7 separate regions of the Homo sapiens genome follow, and regions 2, 3, 4, 5, 6 and 7 are each linked to region 1. The links are contacts of gene promoters, found by promoter capture Hi-C in blood cells and fetal thymus (Javierre and others, 2016). All regions are on one chromosome and are shown on one strand. Each heading gives the region's core, a stretch centred on a gene start or on the middle of the fragment in contact. The rest is flanking DNA. Distances are from core to core; before and after follow the strand shown. Region 1 holds the start of STIM2 (stromal interaction molecule 2). Region 2 overlaps LOC102723733 (a long non-coding RNA gene). Region 3 overlaps SMIM20 (small integral membrane protein 20). Region 4 has its middle 27 kb from the start of LINC02357. Region 5 holds the start of LINC02357 (long intergenic non-protein coding RNA 2357). Region 6 holds the start of LOC124900690 (a long non-coding RNA gene). Region 7 holds the start of RBPJ (recombination signal binding protein for immunoglobulin kappa J region).

Region 1 (3,331 bases), core at 575-3,074:
AATAGGGCTTGATATGCTTCAGGGTAAAGTTAAACATGCTGACCATTATGTTCTATACTCTACATCCTCCAAAGCTTTTAAAGTTTACCAACATCCTTCTTCTCTCTAGAATAGTAAATATCCTATCATAGAAATCAGAGAAACTGCTTGGCTTTAAAGAATACAGTTCCTGAGCACTTGTCAGAGAAGCTGTTAGTAACTTCCAGACGCCCGCAGGACTATCATTTTGGTTAAATTAATCACGGGTCATCTTCTGCCACTTTAAACTTTTTAGTCTTACAATTATTGTAGGAAATCTACAGATCTACTTTAAAAATAAGTGAAATACTAAAAAAAAAAAAAAAAACCATTATTTTAGCTCCATTACTTTTCCCAAAGAAATCATTTCAGGGTCCTTATATAATAACTTTTACTTAAACCACAACTGATCAGTTGTACATAACACCGGAAGGCTTTAAAAAGGATACAATTCTGCACTTAACCTTACAAAACACGTTTCCAAGTTTTCAATTATGAGATCGTTCTATATATTAAAAAAAAGGTGCTAGTGCAGTCTATCAGAACTGTGCTGCCAGCTGCAAGCCCCGAGTATGCTGCACTTTGCAAATTTTAGGTATAATTTCTGGTTACCTGCTGAGGTTTCTACACCCTTTGTCACCCAGTGATGCTCCCACCACCAAACACTTTCCATCACCACTTAAAACGGCCTCCTTCCACCCCGCAAAAAATGCACTGTAAACTTAGGCATTTCTGCATACTAACACGGAACCACTAATATCACTAGGTATTATGGCTCTCAAAGAATCCCCTTTAGCAGGCTCCCCTGGGACGCTGTGCTCAAGCGGAGCTTTGAACCGGTGAGACTCGCTGCCAGCTGCCTTTGCAAAAGCAGCACCAGAGGTAGACTCAATACCGCAATGCTGCTGCTGACTTTTTCTAGCAGCCTCAAAAAAAAAAAAAAAAAAAAAATCAGCCCAGTCCCCTGCAGACCCTGCTGGCACTTCTGCAGCACGAAAGAGAAACCACCGCATTGCTCAGCTTGGAAGATCGGAGAGCCCGACTGAAGGGAGGGGAATCAGTGCCGTCGAGAGGCTCGGCGAGGGCGGGGTGTCGGGGTGAAAAGGAAAGACGTCCGGAGTGCAGGGGACCGCGACGAAGCAGCAGGCAGGGCTCCGCATCGCGCCCTGGCCGGAGCCGCGGAATAGCGGACGTCCGGCGGAGATGCTGACCTCTGCACGGGTTGGGGGTCCCATCGCTGCCGGCCGAGCCCCGCCCGCCGCCCCCCGGCCCCTCACCTGTCATGAGCGCCGGGCTATCGCCGGCCGCCGCGGCGGGAGAGGAGGCGGCAGTTGCGGCAGAGCCAGTCGCCCGCCGCCCGCGGAGGTGCCGGGGCACAAGCTCGCATCCGTCCGCCGCTCCGGCTACCAGCAGCCCGAGCACCAGCAACGCAGCCCAGCGCCGCCGCCGCAGCAGCCAGCCCCACGCTGGGCCAGGAGTCGAGGCGGGATGAAGGCGCCGAGGAGAAGCCGGGTGAAAGCGCAGCGGCGCCCCGGCCGCCTGCAGCTCGCCGGCTCCGCGAGGCGCCACCACCGCCGCCGGCGACTCCTCCGGCCGCCCCCGCCGCCTCAGACACGGGCTCCCGCCGGGCGCCAGCCTGGTCCCATCGGCACCGGCGGCCTCCGGAGCTCTGATCCCGGCTGCGTTCATTGGTTCCGGTTATTTAAAAAAAAAAAAAAAAAAGGTGGGGGGTAGAAAGGTACGGCGTCTTCAGGCGGTGCACGACACCCGCGCTGCTGCTGCGGCGAGACCGGGATCCGCTGCTCTGGCGCCGCCAAACACCAACCCCAGCTCCCGCGCCGCCGCCGCCGCGGCGCATCCCCCCGCCCCCTCCGGCCCGCGCTGGTCGTAGTACCACGCTCCGCCGGGACGCCTCCCTCCCCTCGCACATTCGCTCGCATACCAATCCCCCGCCTCCCTCAGGCTCTCCACGGCGCAGGCGCGGCGCTGCTGTACTGCGCGTGCGCGGCATCCCAGCCCCGCCCCGGAGGCGTTCCTAGACGGACGGTAGTACCGTGGGGCGGCTGATAACGCTTTAGCGAGCCGCGAAGATAGGAGGCGGGGAAGAAGGGGGACGTGTACCTCTCCCTCATTCACGGTACCACCGCGAGGGGGAGTGGGGGGCTACAAGGGGACGGAGAGAAGAGTCCAGACGTCCCACATCCTGAGGGCGAGTTTCAGCCTCGTAGAGGGCAGCGAAAGTAATTGCATGGATCAGGAAAATCTTGCAATCGGAAAACAGCAGCGTCCCCGTAATTTCAATATAGGTGGGGCTTACAAGTGGCTGGCTGTTTAGACGCGGTTAGCATAGCTTAGCGTTTTATTTACTTGCCAAACATTTCACAAAGCGCGTGCTATGTGTGAGTGTACCAGGCATTGCTCTAACCGTTTTACACATTTACATGCTATAACTCCAAAATTATCGTTACCCCCTTTTACGAATGAAGAGACTAAGACCTAGAAATGTGAAGTAAGTTGTCCCCAATATCCCACAGCTAATTCATGGGAAATGAGCGAGATTTAGCAGCCACTGAAAAGGCCTATTTAAGAGAATTTACTTTAGCCTCTGACTCTCCTAGGTACATTTACCTGAACTCATCACCTTCCCACCCCCATCCCATCGACTCTGTGCTGTATCCTGAACCGGCTGACAGAACAATGATGTAGACTTGACTTGTTTTCGCCAACCTGGAATGAAGCAAAGCTCTTGTGCACCCAAGATCTGCTCTCTGTTGTAAATCCTGTTCAGACCTGGTCTAATTGGTTTGAATAAATAAAGAACCGGAATCTTTCTCATCCAAACTAGTTGCCAGCATATTTTTAAGGCCACCTCCCTTCAAATTTAAAAGGAAGTGTTGAATGTACTGTCACTATAAATTAAAAGCCCTGGAAATTCACACGCAAGGAGGCATTCTTTCTCCCAGGGGCACAAAATTGTTTAAAATTTGCAGATAGGGTTATTAAACACGAAGATCCTTTTGCTATTGGGTTTTGTTGGTTTCATTCTGCTTATTGGTTTGTTTGCTTGCTTTCTCAAGCCAAGAAGATACTCAAATTACATTCTCCTAAAGTATTTCTTAGGTAGCCTGGCCAAGATAACCACAAATATCGTTTATTGTGGAAGGGCAGATGCACACTTTAGAAAAGAATCAAGGATGTCTTTGAGGCTAAGTCAATCTATCAACAGTTATTTCTCAGCAGACTTCTTGTGGGCATAGTGTTCAGGTGGCAATTCTTTATAGGGCAACCGGGAGATTATATTTCCCCTGCTGAA
Region 2 (3,331 bases), core at 387-2,886, 960 kb after region 1:
AGCAACAAATTGAGACCCCCATCGCTACCAAAAAAAAAGAGAGAAAGAAAAAAAAAATTAGCCAAGCATGGCGGCGCATGCCTGTGCCACCACAACTACTCTGGAAGCTGAGGTGGGAGGGTGGGAGGATCGCTTGAACTTGGGAGATCAAGGTTGCTGTGTGAGCTATGATTCCTCTACTGCACTCCAGCCTGGGTGACAGAACAAGACCTTGTCACACACACACACACACACACACACACACACACACACACGAAAAAAATAGTAATGAAGCCTTTTCGATCGCTTAGAATAACATCCAGACATTTTACTATGTCCTAGAAGGTTCTAGGGGACTTGTCCCTGCTGACCTCTTCTACCTCACACAAGTATTATGCTTGTTCTTGAGCACATCCGGTCTGATCTAGCCTATGGGACTTTGTACTTACAGTTTCCTCTGCCTGAAATGCTCTGTGCTCTTGGCCTGGCTTTACTTGTTGCTATGGCTTGAATATTTGTCCTCTCCAAAACTCATGTTGAAACCTAATCCCCAATGTTGCAGTATTGAGAGGTGGGGCTTTTCAGAGGTGATTGGATCATGCGTGGATTAATCTATTCATGAGTTAATGGGTTATCACGGGAGTGGGACTAGTGGCCTTGCAAGAAAAGGAAGACAGCTGAGCTAGCACACACGGCAACCTTGCCACGCGATACCCTGAGCTGCCTTGAAACTGCAGAGACCCTAGGTGCAGCCCCTTGACCTTGGAATTCTCAGCCTTCATAACCATAAGAAGTATTTTTCTTTACAAATTTCCCAGTTTCAGGTATTCAGTTATAAGCAAGAGAAGACAAAGACACTTGTCATTTAAGTATCTCTTCAAGTGGTACTACTACCTCATAGGGCTGTACCTGACCACATGGTCTAAAGGGGTCCTCCCCCTTTTCACGCTGTATGCATCTTGCTTTTTATTCCAACACCCTCAAACTACCCATTTACATGTTAATTGTTGTCCCTCATTCTAGAAGGTAAGTGCAGGAACTTTGTCAACCTCCCTGCGGTGTGTCCACCACCTTCCAGAGGACTTGACACAGAGTAGGTGCTCAATAAATATTTGTTGAATGACTGGAGATACTTCGTCTATGCATTTAAGAGACAGTATTGCACAGGGAAGAAACTTGGGAACTTAACTTCTCTTGGGAAGGAAGGGGAAGCCCTGCTTCTCATTAATTATTTAATTACTTTCAAAGCTTGGGATTTCAGGAAGATTAAAAATCTTTCTCATTCCACTTGTCACAGCTAAATGCTCTCAGGCCTAATCACAGCACCTGTGATTCTTAAACTGATCACTGATGTCTGGTTTTCCTGTAGGATTAGCAGAGGAAGAAGGCATCTGCAGACTGTTACCATTGGCATCTTTTGAGATTTTTAATTAACGGAGTATTTTTTTTTCTTTCTCATTCATGGTCAGGGTTTTGATTAACTTGTAAGTGGAAATTTTGTCATGTAAAGGAGGTTAAAGGAGGGTGCTTGGGGCAGATGAGAGATGTCAGGGCTGCCCTTCGTTGCTGATGAAGAATTGGCGGTGCACCAGCTGGCGCCTCCATGTCTGCATGGGGCCACCCCCGACGTGGTAGGGCTGGGTATGCACCACAATCACGATTATGGGCTAGAGTGGATAATTGGGCTTGCGGAGACCTCTCTGCTTACCAGACATTTCTTTCTGTCTGCAGTGCCTTTGTGAACATGGGGGTCCCCAAGTTTTCAGCGGGTGAAGCCAGCAGGCAACAGCTCACACTGGCATTTTGTCAGTCGGGCACCTTTATCTTGGCATTTGGGCTTCCATCCAGGCTGCCTCAGCTCTTTTGAATGAACATGGCCTGCAAATAGTTCATCCACAGAGCTGGCTTGGCAGGCGAAGGCTTCTCAGCCCAAGCAGGGGGCTCGATCTGCCTGCTCTCCTTTCTGTGGCCTCGGATCCAGCCCTCACTTCTTACCTCCACCAGATTTGGAGTTTTCAGAGCTAACTGAGGCTTCGGGAAAAGTTCTGTGTTTGGACAAAGCTTTGCAATAAGGCAGATCTGGGTTTGAATCATCAATTTATTTAATCCTGAAAACCTCAATTTTATCTGTAAAATAAAGATGATAATCATAACCTAGCTCACAGATTTTTTTTGAGATTAAATAGCACACGGCACGCAAGGGGTTTAAACAGGAAATGTTGATTGTTTTTGTTTGGGTCAGGTTATTTGGGTTCAAATCTACTTGCGGCACCTTAACAAGATTTCATCTCTCTGAGACTCAGTTTCCTCATCTATAAATTGAGGATAATGCCTCTTGTGGTTGTGTGACAATGAAATGAATGTGCCAGATAGATAAATTTTCAATTGCTGTGCAAAGGGCTTACTAATTTCATCAATGAGTCATTCACATTTACCCCTGGCCATGAAATTAAGTTGAATTTCTCACAGAATCCTACACATGAATATGTCATCTGTCTTACTCATAAAAAAGAAAATGTAGAAATATAAAATTGGGAGGGCTATATGCAAACACTGTTGGAAAGTTTTTTTTAAAAAAAGGAAGAAGAAACAAATAGCATTAAAATGATTACTGCATGAATGACTGGGCTATTGTCCTCAGGGAAAATATTTCCCAGTTTGCTTAGTGTAGCAAAAAGAGGGAAAAAGAGGTTTAATAGTTATTTCAAAGCTATCTCCCCCAGGGAAATTAAACCTGAGTTGTGGGGTATTTTTCATAAAATCAGAGTATAAAACTAACAAGCGAAAAAAGAAAAAACTACTGTGACATGAACCTAAGTGGATTTAAACAGGGTTCTTCTCAATGGAAGGGCCCCTTGCACATTGGCATTCCTGCCCCTAAACTCGCTTTCACTCCCACTTTACCCCACTTGTACATAGTGGGACCTAGGTATATCCATAAAGAGTTACCTCACTTGGCCATGTTCCGGTCTTCCTTGCAGGGACATCCCAGTGTTATCAGCTGACATAATGATAGGCCCTCTCAGTCCACGTGACTCCCGCCAGCCTTCCTCATCTCTTGTAATAATTGATGTAGGTGTAAGGACCATAAAGGCAGTGAGGCATTTTTAAAAATTGGAGCAGCAAGCTCTTGTCTATAAGATATAGCTTCTGTTTTTATTTTTGCAGAAATTACACTGAGTACTTTTCTAGAAACCTGATGTTTTTTAAGCCTCATTTATCTTCTGTCCTGTGGGCCATTTCAAGGGCCAGAGGCATTTCTTATTAAACCTCTCCAGCATGTCTTTCTGAAATAGACCCCTTTTTTTTCTGTAGGGAACCCATTCCACGGGAGCCTGACTCTGCCCTTCCC
Region 3 (3,331 bases), core at 422-2,921, 940 kb after region 1:
TGCTCTGCAACCATGGAAGATCTCCTTGGCTTTGTTTTACCTAAGCAGGCTTCCCCTTCTTTTCTGCTGCCTGTATGCTTGTTCCAGCAGAGACCCTGGAACGTACCTGTCCCCATATCCATGCTGGCACAGGTGAAGGGCCCGGACTGATCTGACACTTGGCTCTACATGGACTGCCTTGCCAGTTGCCAGCCCTAAGTCTTGCTTTTACCAGTAACCCAGTTCTCAGGGAGTAGGCTTCTGCCCTGTCCATCCAAGAATGATGGGCTTCTGCCCCACAGTCTCAGGATCCTGGGGAATGAAATGTATGAAGGACGGTCAGGAGAGAAGGCCTAACAAGAAAGGCTAACAGGAGTGGCTGAAAGGCAGGAGCAAAAGAGCAAACCCAGGAGGACCTTCCACGGTGGAGAGGCCCAGGGAAGACAGTGCTCCAAGGAAGGAGAGGATGGCCTAGAGTTGGTGCCTCTTACTCATAAATGACCTGACTTCCTGTGTCACAAAGAGAATAGACGCCATCACCTGGAAGTGCCCACAACTTGCCAACATCAAACCTAGATATGGCAGCATCCACACCATCCTTCCTCCTGAGCTGGTGGAAGAGGTGCCTTGCCTTTGGTCCAAGGCTCTTTCCTCTACTTGAGCTCAGGATCTCATGTCACCTCCCACTCTACGGACTGTCTTCTCTCTCCAGCAGCTTTCTCTGTCTAAGACTTTCTTGGCCCTCCATCTCTTCCAGCCAAAACTAAAAGAAAACTCTTCCCAGACCCTGTGACCTGCTGGAAACTTTGCCATTCTCCTCTCCATACAGCTAAACATCTATAAATAGTCAACTTAATACACTATTAATAGTCAACTTAATACACTTCAATCCACTGCAACCTGCCTTCTGCCTACTTCCAAACCACTGAAAGCATGTTTAACAATATAACCAATCACTTCTAACTTATTTCTGTTAAATATAATTCATATTTTCACTTATCTCTTTTACTGTCTCTAAGCAGCCTAACCCTGCTGACCACACTCCCTTTTCATGAAGAGCTGTCTTTATGGGGCTTGTGACTGCAGCCTCTCCTGGTTTAAAACCTGTCTAGCCACTCCTCCTCAGTCTCCTTAGAGGGCCTTTCTCTTCCTCTGACCCCCTATGCTTCAGCCCTTCTGACACTGGTGTTCCCCAGCACACTGCCCCGGGCCAGCTTGCCCCTTACAATCTCTGAATGCTGCCTGGGAACCCTTACCTACTGCAGTGACCTGATTCCCAGCCACGTGCTGATGATGCCCCATCTCCAGCTGCAGCTCACATCCGGCGTCTCAGCCCCAGATCGGTATATTCCATTGTCTATGGGAAATCTCAAAGAGCACATCAGCTACCTCAGCCTCAAAAGCTACCCAAATGCCCAAAAGCAAACTAACTTGTCTTTTCACCCCTAAAACCAATTCCTTCTTGTGTTTTCTAGCTAATGACCAGCATCTCCATCTCCTCAGCTGCTGGAGCCAGAACACTGGGTGCCATTCTCCTTCTTTGCCCCGTGGCTAATCAGCCACAGACCCCTGTAGAGTTTACTTCTTTTCTTTTTTTTAAATGAGACAGGGTCGCGCCATGTTGCTCAGGCTGGTTTGAACTCCTGGACTCCAGCGATCCTCCTGCGTCAGCTTCCCAAAGTGCTGGGATTACAGGTTTGAGCCACCATGCCCACCAGTTTGCTTCTTAAATATGGCTCCCAAATGCAGTCACTTATCTCCACTCCCATAGCCACCACTCTGGTCTCCCTGAGGTCACAGGAAACACAGCCTTCCCGTACCTGGCCTTCCTGTCCCCAGATTTGACTTTTCCACCTTCTAGTTAACATACAATCAATCAGAGTGATGCTTGTAAAGAGTGAATATGATCACTGCTCTTACTAACATACAGTCCTGTGTCACTCATCTGTGGGAGTACATTCTGAGAAATGCGTCCTTAGGTGATTTCATTGTTGTGCAACCATCATAGAGTGTACTTGCACAAACCTAGACAGTGTAGCCTACTACACACCCAGGCTATGTGATATAGCCTATTGTTCCTAGGCTACAAACCTGTACAGCCTGGTACTGTACTGAATACTGCAGGCAACTGTAACACATGGTAAAGATTTGTGTGTCTAAACATAGCTAAACTTGAAAAGGTACAGTAAAAACACTGTATAAAAGATTTTCCAAATGGTGTACCCAAATAGGATATTTACCTTGAATGAATCCTGCAGGAGTGGAAGTTGCTCTGGGTGAGTGAGTGGTGAGTGAATGTGAAGGCCTAAGACATTACTGTACACTACTACAGACTCTATAAACACTGCACACTTAGGCTACACTACATTTATTGTTTAAAATTTCTTTCTTCAGTAATAAATGAACCTCAGCTAGCTTTTTTACTTTATAAACTTTTAAATTTTTAAAACTTTTTGACTCTTATAGTAACATTTAGCTTAAAACACAAACATCTACAGCTGTACAAAAATATTTTCTCTTTATATATCTTCATTCTATAGACATCTTTCTATTTTAAAATTATTATTATTTTTTCCTTTTTAAACTTTTGTGTGAGAAACTAAGATACAACATATATATTAGCCTAGGCCCACACAGGGTCAGGATCATCAGGACATCACTAGGCGACAGAAATTTTTCAGCACCATGATAATCTTATGGGACCACTGTCATACATGGTCTATCGCGGGCCAAAATATGATACAGCACATGACTATACTTCAATAACCCTCCACTGGCTGGACTTCCAAGACACCAAAGGGTTACTGGAGCACTGTAATTAAGCAAGTGAGATGATTAAATTTGGATGGCGTGACAAACTTTTCAAAAACCATGGCAGAAGACCTGCAGTTCTATACATTTTCCAATAGACAAAAACAGAGGTTCCCAGTTACAAATTCTTACCAAAGAAGTAGTAACAGATGTATGTCAGAAGGGAGAAAACTGAAGCTAGAAAGGAGTGAAATGTAAGCAGCGTCGGTGAGTAAAGAACGCGGGTGAAGATAAACAGTCAGTGACCATATACAATAGTGATGGTGTTAACTGATTTGCTGAGTCACAGGCACCAGGCAGGACAAATATATTATGTCAGGTGCATGGGACAAAGGTTAAGGCATTATAAGGACCTTGTATTGTTCAAGGGTAAAGACACTGACTAACTCTAAACTTTATAAAAGAACAAAAATAGAATTTAAAACTTTCAAACTAGTAGCGGGAAGAGAAGAATAAAGAAGGCTTGAGGCAGAAAAGAAGAAAAAAAGGAAGCATAGAAATAGAACAGAAGGCCGGGTGCAGTGGCTCATGCCTGTAATCC
Region 4 (3,331 bases), core at 374-2,873, 820 kb after region 1:
CTAAACTCCTCAACCCATTCTGGACTTAAATAGATCCAGATGGGAAATTGCACTTGAACTTTACTAGGACGTGACTGAACTTTTTTCAAAGTGTGCACGTGCACATGCCTGCATGCGTGTGCTTCCCTCATTGTCGGGGGGCAGCACAAGCTTCCTGCTCCCACCTCTCAAATGTGAGCAGATATCTGGATTCCTCCAGCATGGAGCACAAGAGGTGAGGTCAATGAACAAAAGGATAAACAAATGAAAGCCACACACTGTGATGTGCTGAACACATCATCATCCAAGGCAGCTGAGAGATGCTTTCTCCTTTGTGTGAGTTGGGATCATAGGCAAAAGGAAGGCCAAGGCCACACACTAGGATACTCAGGAAAGAAAGATGGAGCTGGCAGGGAAGGAGCAGAGCCAAGAAAATGGGAAAGAGGGGAGTGGATGGGGAGCCAAGACCTGTCTTTTAGGTTTCTCAATGGCTTTCTTATAACTATTAAAGTCTGTACCTTTAGCAACATGGTCCTTAGAAAGGCTGAGAAAATGCTTTTTAATTCTGAAGTTGAGAGCTCATTTCAACTCATGTTCACTCTGCTCCCCTGGTCCTCCACTTTGGCATGATTAGAAAGGTTTCAGTCTGCCTGGCTGAAGGTGTAAATGAAAGCTCAGCTGGCTCGAGCCTTCCCACCAGGGCTGTGTAGGTAGATGAGTAATAGGATTCAAAGAAGTTGCATTTCAGAGGGTCTAACCATGGTGATTCATCTCCTCAGTGACCTCCAGGGAAATAAGACCCTGTGGCAGCCAGAAAATACTTCGAAGGTCAGAAATCTGTGCTAGATCTTTATCCTGGAGCCAACAAACAATAAAAATCAGCATTAGTTGATAATATTCCTTGAGTCCCTAGAGAGGTTGGGACTGAAGAACCCAGAGGTAGTCCTTAAACTATTTCTTCTCACATATTTATGAAGTTCTGACAGTGGCCTAGGCATGATATCTGGAGGAGAAAGATTACAAGGTAAGCTCCCTTTTCACTAAAGTACAGTTTAGCAAGGGAGGAAGGCAATGGCACAAGTGATTGTGATTCAGTGAAATAAGGACCATAAGAGGGCATAGTATGTAAGGCTAGGAAGATGCAGAGGAAGTCAAGGCTACCTGTCTTTGATTAAATTAGAAAATGGACTTTTGAGAGATGAGGTGTTTTTTGTTTGTTTGTTTGTTTGTTTTTGTTTAATGAATAGGAGTTCTTCAGAAAGAGGGGTGGAAGATGCCTCCAGGCTGACTCTCTAGCCAGAAGGAACATGCAATAAAGGTTCCAGGGGAAAGAAAGCAGAGATTTGAACAGGGTTTGTACACCAATGTTCATAGCAGGATTATTCATAAGGGTGAAAAGATGGAAACAACCCAACTTTTCATCGATGGCTGACTGGATAAACAAAATATGGGCCATGCCTACAACGGAATATTATTCAGCCATAAAAGTGAATGAAATCTGACACATGTTAAATATGGATGAATCTCAAAGACCTTATGTGAAATAAGCCAGACACAAAAAAACAAATAGTGTATGCTTCCACTTATATGGATTATCTGGAGTAGTAAAATTCATAGAGACAGAAAGTAGAATGGTTTCCAGGGGCTTGAGAGAAGGGAGAATGCTTTTGTTTGATGGGCATAAGATTTCAGTTGGGGAAGATGAAAAAGTTCCGGAGATGGATGGTGGGAATGGTTGCACAACAGTGTGAATGTACTTAATATCACTGAGCTGTCTACGTAAAAATGGTTAAAATGATATATTTTATGAAATGTATATTTTATTACAATTTTTTAAAATTAACAAGAAAAAAGATGTGGGGAGAGGAACAATTGTGGTATATTGAGGAAAAGGTGAATTCATAGGCCTGGCTAAGACTTCAAGTGTGGGTGAGAGACTGACAAGGTAGATTTAGTCCAGGTAATAAAATATTTTGTACTTGGGGAGGTGGCGCTTTGCCTTGGAGGGGGGTAATAAAGAGTTATTGGAGAAGTGGGGAAGGACCAGGATTTTTAGGAAAGACTTATCCTGCAGAGTAGAAAGGCCGGAGGTGGAGGCCAGCTTCAGTGCTGTGAGATGTAATGGGAGCTGGAACTGCCGTGGAGATGAAGAGGACATAGAAGCATCAAGAAATGAAGTCAAAAGCCAGGCACGGTGGCTCACGCCTGTAATCCCAACACTTTGGGAGGCTGAGGCAGGAGGATCTCTTTAGTCCAGGAGTTCGAGACCAGCCTGGGAAACTTGGCAAAACCCTGTCTCGACAAAAAAGACAAAACCTAGTCAGGTGTGGTGGTGTGCACCTGTGGTCCCAGCTACTCAGGAGGCTGAGGTGGGAGGATCACTTGAGCTGGAGAGGTGGAGGCTGCAGTGAGTCCAGATTACACCACTGCACTCCAGCTTGGGTGACAAAGGGAGACCCTATCTCAAAAAAACAAAAAACAAAAAAAGAAACAAAAACAAAAACCAAGAGATGAAGTCAAATAAACAGGACTGTGTGCCTATCGACTTGAGCCAGATTAGTTGAGGGTGAATGGGAAATTGAGGATGGGTGATTTGGTTTGGGTGGCTAAATGGACACCAGCCACAAATAAGGATCTTCAGGAAGAAGAATGTGTTTTGTGGGAAAGAAAACAATATCAATTTGAGACCTATTTAATAATATGTACATGTATGTAGTGCCACATGATTATATAATGCCTCTTATTTGTATCAATTTATTTTACTTGTTCTTGTCTCTAAGTTAGATTTTTGAGCACATAGATCTGGTGGATTTGTTCATTTGTTCATTCAATATGCATTTATTAGCACATTCTCTTTGCTTGCAACACTTATGCAATCCTCAACTCCACTCCAGCCCTGTACCAAGAGTAAGCAGTGATCTGGGCACGGAATTCAGGTCTTTTTCACTAGACAATGGCTTCCCCCACCTAAAGACAGAAAACAAAGTGTGTATATAACATGGCTCTCTCTATGCTTGAATCTTATTTAAATTCTCACAACAACCCAATGTGATCAGTACTACTGTTTTTAGGGGAGGAATGAGAGGGAAAGATTGCAAAAAGACGAGAAGAAGCTTTTAAGAATGTTGGATATGTTTATTATGATTGTGATAATTGTTTAACAGGTATATGCATAGGTCAAAACTGACCAAATGGAACATTTTAAAGTTGTGCAGTTCATTGCATGGTAAGTATACCTCATTGAAGCTGTTTTATAAAAGTATCGGGCAACAACAAGAAGTAGCTTTTGATGAGGTATCATTTGCTGAGGGGCAATCAATTAATTTAGTTTTGAAAAACAAAAATCTGTCTT
Region 5 (3,331 bases), core at 523-3,022, 790 kb after region 1:
TTTTGCAGGAATAACACAAATATGATGTTGTGTTGTTGTGTTTTCCCCAGTGCATCACATCAGGAGGCAAATGCTGTGGATTTTTCTCATCTCTTGTAACACTAACTGATCAGTTAGTTAAGGTGGTATCTGCTAGGTTTTATCATTGGAGGGTTATTAGTTTTGCTTTGTCATTAAGAATCTGGAGGGCGGATACTTTGAGACTATCTAAATAGTCTGTTATTTCTCAAACTTGCCCACTCCTTAGCATCCATTAGTGTTCTTACTTGAATCAATTATCATTAGGACGGTTGCCAAATGGTAGAACCCAGACTCTTGACCTTTCTATTTCAATCAGCAAATAATGTGCATGGCCTTCACATCTTCTGCATAGGCCTCCATGCCTTCGCTCACGGCTTCCTCTCTCTTGAAACATCCTTCTACCCCTTAATATTTGCCAACTTTTTTTTTCAAGACCCTCTGAGGATTCATCTCCAAGGATCGACTTCCTGTTTCACCTCAACCTACAGTGACCATTCTCTTCACCTCCTTTGTACTCCTGCCTTTAACATTTCTCAGTTTCCAAGCATTTCTTGAATGTTGGCTTTTCCTTACCATGTGACTAGGGCTATGTTATCTTTGACAACATATTTTATAAACTCTCTGCAGTTAAGGATGAGTTTTTTAAAATTTCCAAAATTTTGAGGGAGGATATGTGGTCCTAGTGTGTGTGAGCCACCACACAAATTCAACAGCACCCCAAATGCTCACCACTGCCCTCTTCATCAAGACAGGATCATTGATCAGGTGCTTGGACACTGTGGCAAAGTAAAATCACCTTAAACATTTCTAAACCCTCCATTTCTGTATTTAACATGGGCCAATAACATTTCAGTAACCCATATTAGGACAACTCCTTCCTCTTCCTACATCCATCCCACTCTTAGACCCGAGAGAGAGAGAGAAAATGATGGTAATCAGATGAAAAATAAAATCGTTTTCCCCCGATTGCCTCCATTCCATTTGATTTTGACAAGATTCCTCTCTGTGACATAATAACCACCAAAGAAGCCTGAGGCTTCATGGATAAGGAAGTAATAAACAGCATCTTCTAATTGAGAAGGAGTTTGAAGGACATAAAGGGAACATTAAGATTAAGGGAAATAACTCCTGACAGCATAATATTCTGAAGGAATAGGCAGATCTGCATTTGCCCTTTGAATAATTGAGTCTACAGCAATCAAATGGATAAACCAACTTCCACTCCATCTCCCTTGGCAAAAACAGAGCTCTTCATGTGCAATTCCAATATAATAAAAGATTGCCATTTTTGAGGCTGGGTGTGGTGGCTCACACTTGTAATCCCAGCATTTTGGCTAAGGCGGGCGGATCACCTGAGGTCGGGAGTTCGAGACCAGCCTGACCAACATGGAGGAATCCCAGTCTCTACTAAAATACAAAATTAGCCGGGCGTGGTAGTGCATGCCTGTAATCCCAGCTACTCGGAAGGCTGAGGCAGGAGAATTGCTTGAACCCAGGAGGCGGAAGTTGTGGTGAGCCGAGATCATGCCATTGCACTCTAGCCTGGGCAACAAGAGCGAAACTCTGTCTCAAAAAAAAAAAAAAAAAAAAAGATTGTCATTTTTAAAAAGTTTGTCAACTCTCTATTACATGCCGCTCAGGCACCGTGGTCAGTACTGGGAATGAAGAGGTAAATAAAACACAGTTCTTGCCCTCATGGAGCTGATATCCCACTGGGGGAGGCAGGGGTAAGCCCACAGGGGAGAAAAATAAGAAACCTTGAGAACATAGGAGCAAAGTTGAGTACAGGTGGGAGGTGGGGAAGGAAGATATGGTCTCCCAGCAAAGATGCCAGCTAGGCAGAGGTGGGCAGGAGCTCCCCACACTCAAAGGACTGCCTAAGCCCTGGTGTGACTGGGCACAGAAAGGCAGAAAGGGCCTGGATGAGGCTGGACGAGCCAGCAGAAGCCAGACGTGGGCCCTGGGGGCTAAAATCTGAGTCCTAGCATTGATTGAGAAAGCGATTGAGAATGCTTGACAAGGGAAGTGATGGAATGAGATTGCATTTTTAAATGGATCTCTCTATCATAGAATGTGCTGGCGGGGTCAGAGTGGGCTTACTTAGCAGGACTAGTTAGGGGGCTCTTGACTGGGTCTGGGCCGGAGAGGACACTGGCTTGGATGAGACAGTGGAATCTCTTGCTCTTTTCATCTTTGGGGGACCTGCCAACAACCAAACTAATTAAATTCTTGTAGGGTTGAGCGGGCAGCATTCCCATTTATTCAGATGGAAACACTGTTAGAGGGGGCCCTAATCAAGGTATTTCTGCCCCCTACGGGTGGTGAAGAGAAACAGCTTCTTGGAGAGGCAGAGAGTACAAGCCACATGGAGCCCAGGTATGTGGGCTGCTGAAAGATTGTTACGGGACTGAATACTTCCCCTGTCAATGCACAGGAGGCCATTCCTAGCTCCTTCTGCCCCACCACTGATGTTGTTTTCATCCAGCATATCTTAAAAAGGACAGGCCTATAATAGGAAATTAAAGCTGGGTTTTGGCTTAGAACCTATGAACAACCCAGTTCCCTATCCAGCAAAAGTCCCACTGATTGGGAACGGAGGGGAGGGCTGGGTGAATTAGACTGAATTTTCAATTACAGCATGTTTTAAAAAAAAAAAAAAACACAGCATGATGACTTTCAAGGACAAAGGTGAACCAATTAGGAGTAAATGGTTTTCCTTTCTCTAATAGGCTAAGAGGCAGCCACGGTGTTATTACCCACAGGTGTGCTCCCATCGGCCGTGAGGCATATTGCTAATGACAAGAATAAGAAAATATTCATAATAAGGCAGTTATCACCTACTGAGTATTTACCATTAGCAGGCACATTGCCAAGCATTTAGTTTGCATAATCAGATCCAATCCTAACGGACCCTCCAGCATAGGAGTTCTATTATCATACCCATTCTGCAGATGAGAATGCTAAGACTCAAAGAGGGTAAGTAACTCACCCAGCGCCACACAGCCTATAAGTGAGGGGGTCAGAATGGGAATCTGAGATTGTCTGACTTCCAAGCCTATAGTCTACTTCTAACAATGGAGAAGACATCAATGGTTTTGTGTGAATTACTTATTTTGTAAATTAAAGTGAGTTCATGGTCATCCCTCTGTGAATGTCACTCTCAGTTGCAAGTACTGGTGGCTCCAGGGAGTGTGTATGACCCTGGGTGTATCAAAGACATGGGTCCTGCTGGCAAAGGTCATGTGCCTTCTATGTTCAACAGGAGAAAGGCTGAGAACTAATGGCCTGGTGAAGAGATAGCAGACTGATC
Region 6 (3,331 bases), core at 239-2,738, 590 kb after region 1:
CTTGAACCCAAGAGGCGGAGGTTGCAGTGAGCCGAGATCGCGCTACTGCACTCCAGCCTGGCAACAGTACGAGACTCCGTCTCAAAAAACAAAACAAAACAAAACAAAACAAAAAACCTATGATTTGGAGAGAAGTTGACAGTTGTGTTATGTCAAGATACCTCTTTCCTGGATGGTTTTTCTCCGGCGACTGACTTGACATGTTGCTTAGCCACACCCGAGTCACATAGTCCCCCTGGGTTTTAATTTCTTTTTCCGGTGTTAGTAATACTTGTTCCCTTCCTGCCCCACTGGCCTGTTGGGAGGCATAAGTAGACTCATAGCATGCTAGGTCCTCCCTTTTCATTATCTTCCTAGGAAAACAGTTACCCATAGGAGCCCAGAACCTTGCCTAGAGTCACCCTGCCAGCAAGTGGCAGAGCTGCGATTTGAATCTGGGGCTTATGCATCTGATTCTGCTGAGGATGTCAAATTACCAGGCTTTGGTCTAAGCAGAAGTCAGGGGACAGCAGTGAAAAGAGCACGGTTCCACACCTTGATGCCGTCTCTCACTTTCCCTCTGTGTGACCTTGGGTAAGTTATGCAAATGCTCTGTGCCTCAGTTGCTTCATTTATGAAATAGGGACGATGACATCTCACTAGTCTATTACAAATATTAGTTGACAATGTGGCCATCTCCCTATCCCATGAATGCTATCTTCCTTTATGGCTTCTAATCCCTTCCTCTAGCCCTGGTACTTTAGAAACTTTTTTCCTTTCCTTTCTTTTTTCTTTTCTTTTCTTTTTTTGTTTTTTTGAGACGGTGTCTCGCTCTGTCACCCAGGCTAGGATCATGCAATGGCGTGATCTCAGCTCACTGCAACCTCCGCCTCCTGGGTTCAAGCAATTCTCCTGCTTTAGCCTTCCGAATAGCTGGGATCACAAATGTGCACCACCACCCCTGGCTAATTTTTGTGTTTTCGATAGACGAGGTTTTGCCATGTTGAGCAGGCTGGTCTTGAACTCCTGGTCTCATGTGATCCACCAGCCTCAGCCTCCCGAAGAGCTGGGATTACAGGTGTGAGCCACTGTGCCCAGCCTTCTTCTTCTTTTTTTTTGAGAGACAGGGTCTCGCTCGCTCTATCACCCAGGCTGGAATGCGGTGGCATGACCACAGCTCACTGCCACCTCAAACTTCTGGGCTCAAGGGATCCTCCCATTCAGCCTCCTGAGTAGCTGAGAACATAGGCACATGCCACTGTGCCAGGCTAATTTTTAAAAAAATTTATGTAGAGACAGGGTTTTGCCGTGTTGCCCATGCTGGTCTTGAACTCCTGGGATCACGCAGTCCTCCTGCCTCAGCCTCTTGGACTGCTGTGATTACAAGGGTGAGCCACCGTGTCTGGCCAGAAACATTTTTCTTAATCAAAAATCATACCTTCTCTTATCTTCCTTAGGGTTTCAGAAAGTCTCAAATCCATTCATTATTTAACAAATACTTATCGAGCGCCTACTATGTATGTGGCACTGTTGTGGGTGCTCGGGATGCAGGGTGTGGGTGTGAGCATGGGGCAGATGGCAGAAGATAGGCAGAAAATCAAATGAAGCAGTAAAATATAACACATGTACAAAGTATTTTAGGAGGTGAGAAGTGTTATGGAGAACAATAAAGCAGAGAAGTAGAAAAGCATATATCTGGGGTTGAGGCCACACCTGTGGTTGGGAAAGACTTCTCTGACAAGGTGACATCTGAGCAAAGACCCATAGGCAGCAGGGGAATGGAAGAAGAACAAACTTTTTTTCCTCTACACCAGAGAAGACACAGACACCTCCAGGAGAAGTAAAGCCGGGCCTAATCGGATTCCCAGGAAGATGCAAATGGCGATGACTGTGTCTTGGCTGCGTTCAGCTTCAAAGAAGAAGAGGGAAGAACCGTTGGCATACCAAGCACTGGAAGGGTGGCGGCAAGGGGCACCGGGAATGGCTGTGGTTACCAGTGATGCAAACAGACCTCCCACTTCCCCACTTCTTCCTGAAAGTGGAGGAGGGGAGGGAGGCAGTTGAGTGAAAAGAGCTCCCAGGCCCCGCTGCTAGGTTCTTCTGCAGAAAGATTAGTACCCCTAGGTGCAAGTGGGATACAGAGTGGTTCTTCCCTGAGCCATTGGAATCTGTGCCCTCCTCTTAGATTCCAGAATGGCCTCGGACATAGATACTGCTCTCTGCTGCCAGTTTCCTTCCAGGCAGCTAGAGCTGGAAAGATCTTCATCCTAGCTGCCTGCCAAGGCCGGGAGGCCCGCTCCACGCTCCCTCGGAGGCATCTCGCCCTCTGGGAGGTCGCCAGGCAGACAGCTTTGGAAAACTGGGAGCTTGGAAAAAAGTCATTTGAATTTTATAAAGTGGTAACTACTGTGGGGCTTTATGTAATAAAACCTAAATGCCATTTTCCTCCTAAAGCTCTCGGGTGAGGTAACAGTTCTCTTTAATGTCAGCTCAGGAAGTTTTACCCAAGAAAAAGGAGGTGGAGGGGTGGTGTTTGCCAAATCAGGAAATGTGCCTTAACTGACTAGGAACTTAAAAAAGAGGCTGAGGCAATGAGAGGAAGGGAAGTGGGAGACAGCAAAAGGTAGTCCTGCAAATGAGTAAACTTGGGACACACAGGCCAATTTTTATTTCAAGTCAATTTTGTTGGTTGAAACTTCCTTTTTATGGTCTGTTGTTTTGAAAAACTTGGAGTGAAAGAAAATCTCAAACTTAATACAGTCTTCATGAAAAAAAAGCACCTAAGGTATTAACAGGGATTCCAGCGTCTGTAATGTAAACATTCACCTTAGGCATGGAAACTCTTGCTTGAGAGTTGCAGAGTTCCCTGTTTCACACCACAAATCTAACCACAGCTTTCTGCGCAATGTATGGTTTTAAACAATGAGTACATTATGCAGATCCAATAGGACTTTCCTCCATCCCATCACCCCCTTCCTGGTGTTAGACCTACCTCATGGTTTCAAATATGGTTGGTGCACCCCAAGGACAGAGAAAAGTAAGCCCTATTTTTAAGCAGGTGTTCAAGAACCAGGAAGAATGAATCACTTTGGAAAAAATGAAGACAAAATGCAAGTTCATCTGCAACCAAATCTGTAGTTTTGTTTTTTATTTATTTTTTATTTATTTTATTTATTGTAGAGATAGACAGGGTCTTGCTCTGTCACCCAGGCTGGAGTGAAGTGGCATGATCACAGCTCATTGCAGCCTTGAACTTCTGGTCTCAAGTGATCCTCCCACTTCAGCCTCCCAAGTAGCTGGGACTACAGGCATGTGTCACCACACCTGACTAATTAAAAAAAAATTTTTTTTG
Region 7 (3,331 bases), core at 407-2,906, 540 kb after region 1:
AGGCACAGCAATCCTGTGCAGATGTGGCAAGTTATTATAATTCCCATTTTACTACATAGTTAGGAAACTGGCCCAGGGGAAGTAGAGTAACTTGGAAATAATCACAAAGCCAGATGCCAAAAATAACAACTTTTAGTCAATCCATGAGAAAATACTGCCCCTAGTTGAGATAACATGAAATTTAGTATTAGGAGGAAGCAAAATGCAAAATAATGCTTTAAAGCCAAGTCCTGGGTCTTATTTCTAAAAATGAACAGAAGAATGAGATGTATAATAACTTTCAAACGAAACAATTTTTTCCTAATGCCTTACCCATCAAGGGTGCCAAAGGTTATTTAATGAATTACATCTGGCAAGAATGGCCTGTCAACCAAACCAATTTTGATCTTACCCACTTAAAAAAAACATTGATAGAAATCTGTTGGTATAGGACAACAGATAACTTTTTAACAAACCTAACTGCTTAAAATCTAATGCCTACAAGTGTGTATTAGTACAGATTTGAAAATATTGCAAGTCTCCTGTTTTCTGAAAATATACTCACAGATCCATCAGCAATATGCATGGATAATAAAATTTAAAGCTTTAACAGTTAATACTCAGAATGAAAGTTCTCCAGCCACAACGCATCCAGATTTCGAAATATGCTGCTGTTATAATTTAATTAAAAGCAGTTTTATTTCACCAATCATGTAAGTAAAAGTATTACACGATTTAGAAAGAAAAACGCAACTCAAATGGTAAAAGCGCTTTTATCATGTCTGTGTAATCATTCTTACAGGTACAAGTCAGAGCAAAATACCTTCCATTACTACACAGTATTTACACTTTGCTCCCAGTCAGAGAACCAGTGAGCTCAAGATTTTACCTTCAAAACAATGATTATGTACAAGAACAAGTAAGGGAGACATAAGATTATTGGTAAAACCCACTCAAGCGACCCAGACTGCAGATTTTCACAAAAAAACTTATGTATCAATCATGAAAACATGGTTTTCCATTAATTAAAACTCAAACTACTAATTCTAATCACAGCCAGAAAAAAAAGTATTTTCCAATGCTCCAATACTCGTTAGAGTAGATCTCGTATGTCCCCTATCAACAACACTTCACTATTGTAGAACTTCAGTTTGTAAATGAAATGACACTCCAAATGATTTTATGGGTAACATACCTTCTAAAAGTAGAGATCAACCAGTAGAAAAAAAACAAACTCTTGAAGAATACCTTCAGCATAGTAATCCTGGTAAATATAATAACTCTTATTCCTAGCACCCAGAATAACTCAAGTCATTAGAATACATCACACCACACCCCCCACCCCCATTCACACAACCCCAAGCTTTTAGCATTACCAAAACAATAAGAACTCGAAACACTTCAAGGGTTCTTTAACACTAGGAAGTGTCTTTAAAATAATCTCACTACAGGCTATTACGTGTGTGTGTGTATATATATATATAATATACATATTATACGTATACTTTTTAACTGCATTTGATTAATATCTTCCACAAAGATCTTAGAAGCAGTATTCATCGACCAGAAACTGCACTCTTCGGTGCTGTCCTCATTTCAACCCCAATGATGGGACAGAAGGGTTGTCACGCATCTACAGGGCAGCAAAAAGCACATAACTGTAAACTATCTAATGATTAAGAAAAAATAAAACATTTATATAAAATTCCCAAGCGGAATGCCTCTCCTTTTCCTTATGAGGCAGAAGTTACTGATAAATTCTAAATCCAGATTTCTAGAAAATGCTGAAATTCTCCGCCCCAACACTCACAAGTTTTTAACATGGAAATTCACTCAACTCCTACTCACACGCCAAATGAATATCCATTGTGGCTATCTGAAACTATTCTCAAACACTAACAGAAAAACACATATATACATCTTGAGCCTCCTTCTAACCGTCCTACGATACCCTCCAATCATCCTCAGGCAGCCTAGATTGCAAAGCTTCGACAGACAGCTGCCCTTGGCCTACGCCGTCAGGAACCAGGAGGGGGGCGGGGGCCGGGGGGCGCAAGAACCACCAAGAGACCAGATCTTTTTCCAAGGCTACTGTTTCCAAGCAAAACAACCCACGGCACTAAAAAGACGGCGATGAAAATTGGAGACGCTTTAATCCCGAGAGAAAGGGGTGGCGATAGGGGGGCGGGAGGGTACAAGAAATCCCGAGAAAAAGAGGTGCGGAGGAGAAAACTAAGTATCCCATGCATCTTTCAGACCCACAAAACAACAAACCGTAGAGTCTTGTGTGCACTTAGAAGCAGCAGATGGAGTCCCCGGGGCTGAGACAGTTCAGCAGACGTACACCGTGGGTTGTGGATAAATCAACCGATGACGGGAGAGGAAGGGGGTGCCGAGAGAATAAGCCCGTGGATGGGGGAGACAAAGCCTCGGGGGGTGATCCAGGACCATACAGAAAGGTGAGAGGGGACCCACAGGAGAAAGACAATGGAAGAACAATTAAGGCAGAAATCTGGTGCCCGGGCTGTGGCAGGTCACTGGGCTAACGACAAGAGTGTGGCACAACAAAGGGGCACGGGAGGAAGGACAGCGGAGGGGAGGAGATGGAGAGGGGATGCGGGACGCCACGGGTCGGACAAAGCGCCCAAGGCGGCGAAACAAAGGGCCGGGGGTAGAGAGTCGCAGCGGGTAGCGGTGAAAGACAAAGCGCCCGGGGCCGGGGGCACTAGCGGGGCGAAGCGGCGACAACGGCCGCGAGGAACAAAGATGCACGGGGCCCCCAGGCAGAGCCCGCTGGAGGCGCGCGGGAGGCACGGCGCCCGAGGGCCCCGCGCGCCCTGCCGCACTCACGCCCGCACCCGCCGGCCTCGCCGCCGCCGCCGCCGCCCGCCCTCACGCGCTGGAGCCTGAGCCACGGCAGCGCAGAGCGGCAGCGCACGGCCACACGCCGCCGCCGCCGCGCTCGGCGCACGCGACGCCGCCCCCGCGGGCCCCCGAACGCCAAGCGCGCCGCGGCCCCCGAACCCGCTGCCCGCCGTGAGCTGCCAGACGCCCGCAACTTTCCCGGTTCCCGGCGCTCCGATTCCCTCAGACTTACCCTGTCACAACAGGCGCCATCTTCCACAAACTCTCGCCAAAACTCCAACCCTCGCGAGATTCCCCCCGACGCCTTCCCTGGTCCCTCTCCCCCGCCCCTTCCCTTTTTCCTCACTCCTCGATTCCACCCAGCCCCCGCGCTCCCTTTCCCCTCGCCGCCGCCGCGAAGAGCCAGACGCCTCGCGCCGCCCGCAGAGTAGGGGATCCTGCTCGCTGCCTTCCCTGGAAACCTACCCAGGCGATGGAGCATGCGCAG

The links. The method cuts DNA at HindIII sites, captures the fragments that hold promoters and counts their contacts. A CHiCAGO score of 5 or more calls a contact.
Region 2: a contact is called between a fragment that was not itself captured here and the fragment with the promoter of STIM2 in region 1, in 1 of 17 cell types (total B cells). The highest score is 5.4, in total B cells.
Region 3: a fragment that was not itself captured here is called in contact with the fragment with the promoter of STIM2 in region 1 in 1 of 17 cell types (naive CD4 T cells); the score reaches 5.1 in naive CD4 T cells.
Region 4: a contact is called between a fragment that was not itself captured here and the fragment with the promoter of STIM2 in region 1, in 1 of 17 cell types (M0 macrophages). The highest score is 5.5, in M0 macrophages.
Region 5: a contact is called between a fragment that was not itself captured here and the fragment with the promoter of STIM2 in region 1, in 1 of 17 cell types (monocytes). The highest score is 5.6, in monocytes.
Region 6: a contact is called between a fragment that was not itself captured here and the fragment with the promoter of STIM2 in region 1, in 1 of 17 cell types (neutrophils). The highest score is 6.2, in neutrophils.
Region 7: a fragment that was not itself captured here is called in contact with the fragment with the promoter of STIM2 in region 1 in 4 of 17 cell types (fetal thymus, naive CD4 T cells, naive CD8 T cells and 1 more); the score reaches 18.3 in fetal thymus.

What each region holds. Positions count from the first base shown.
Region 1 is chr4:26,859,334-26,862,664 of GRCh38, reverse strand. It overlaps STIM2 (stromal interaction molecule 2), which reads right to left and starts at 1,824. Exons shown (of 12, transcript NM_020860.4): 1 at 1,296-1,824. The coding sequence starts at 1,446. STIM2-AS1 (STIM2 antisense RNA 1) reads left to right here and starts at 2,066. Exons shown (of 2, transcript NR_134674.1): 1 at 2,066-2,155; 2 at 2,637-3,041. RefSeq lists silencers at 1,128-1,697, 1,708-2,077 and an enhancer at 2,168-2,267. The HindIII fragment of the contact is 3,345 bases long and covers 77-3,331 here.
Region 2 is chr4:25,899,615-25,902,945 of GRCh38, reverse strand. All of the region lies in intron 1 of LOC102723733 (a long non-coding RNA gene), which reads right to left. It overlaps LOC105374538 (a long non-coding RNA gene), which reads left to right. Exons shown (of 3, transcript XR_925502.3): 3 at 1,711-2,136. Among named protein-coding and RNA genes, the nearest start is that of SMIM20, 13 kb to the left of the region's middle. The HindIII fragment of the contact is 813 bases long and covers 1,230-2,042 here.
Region 3 is chr4:25,919,617-25,922,947 of GRCh38, reverse strand. The region is part of intron 1 of SMIM20 (small integral membrane protein 20); the gene reads right to left. Among named protein-coding and RNA genes, the nearest start is that of SMIM20, 7.1 kb to the right of the region's middle. The HindIII fragment of the contact is 5,874 bases long and covers 1-3,331 here.
Region 4 is chr4:26,042,077-26,045,407 of GRCh38, reverse strand. No RefSeq gene overlaps it. Among named protein-coding and RNA genes, the nearest start is that of LINC02357, 27 kb to the left of the region's middle. The HindIII fragment of the contact is 2,942 bases long and covers 153-3,094 here.
Region 5 is chr4:26,068,408-26,071,738 of GRCh38, reverse strand. It overlaps LINC02357 (long intergenic non-protein coding RNA 2357), which reads right to left and starts at 985. Exons shown (of 3, transcript XR_925506.3): 1 at 1-985. The HindIII fragment of the contact is 9,846 bases long and covers 1-3,331 here.
Region 6 is chr4:26,272,402-26,275,732 of GRCh38, reverse strand. LOC124900690 (a long non-coding RNA gene) reads left to right here and starts at 308. Exons shown (of 4, transcript XR_007058094.1): 1 at 308-573. It also overlaps a transcript of RBPJ not described here. The HindIII fragment of the contact is 4,295 bases long and covers 1-3,331 here.
Region 7 is chr4:26,320,794-26,324,124 of GRCh38, reverse strand. It overlaps RBPJ (recombination signal binding protein for immunoglobulin kappa J region), which reads right to left and starts at 3,111. Exons shown (of 11, transcript NM_015874.6): 1 at 3,077-3,111. The coding sequence starts at 3,096. RefSeq lists an enhancer at 1,734-2,655 and silencers at 2,768-2,867, 2,938-3,067. The HindIII fragment of the contact is 623 bases long and covers 1,345-1,967 here.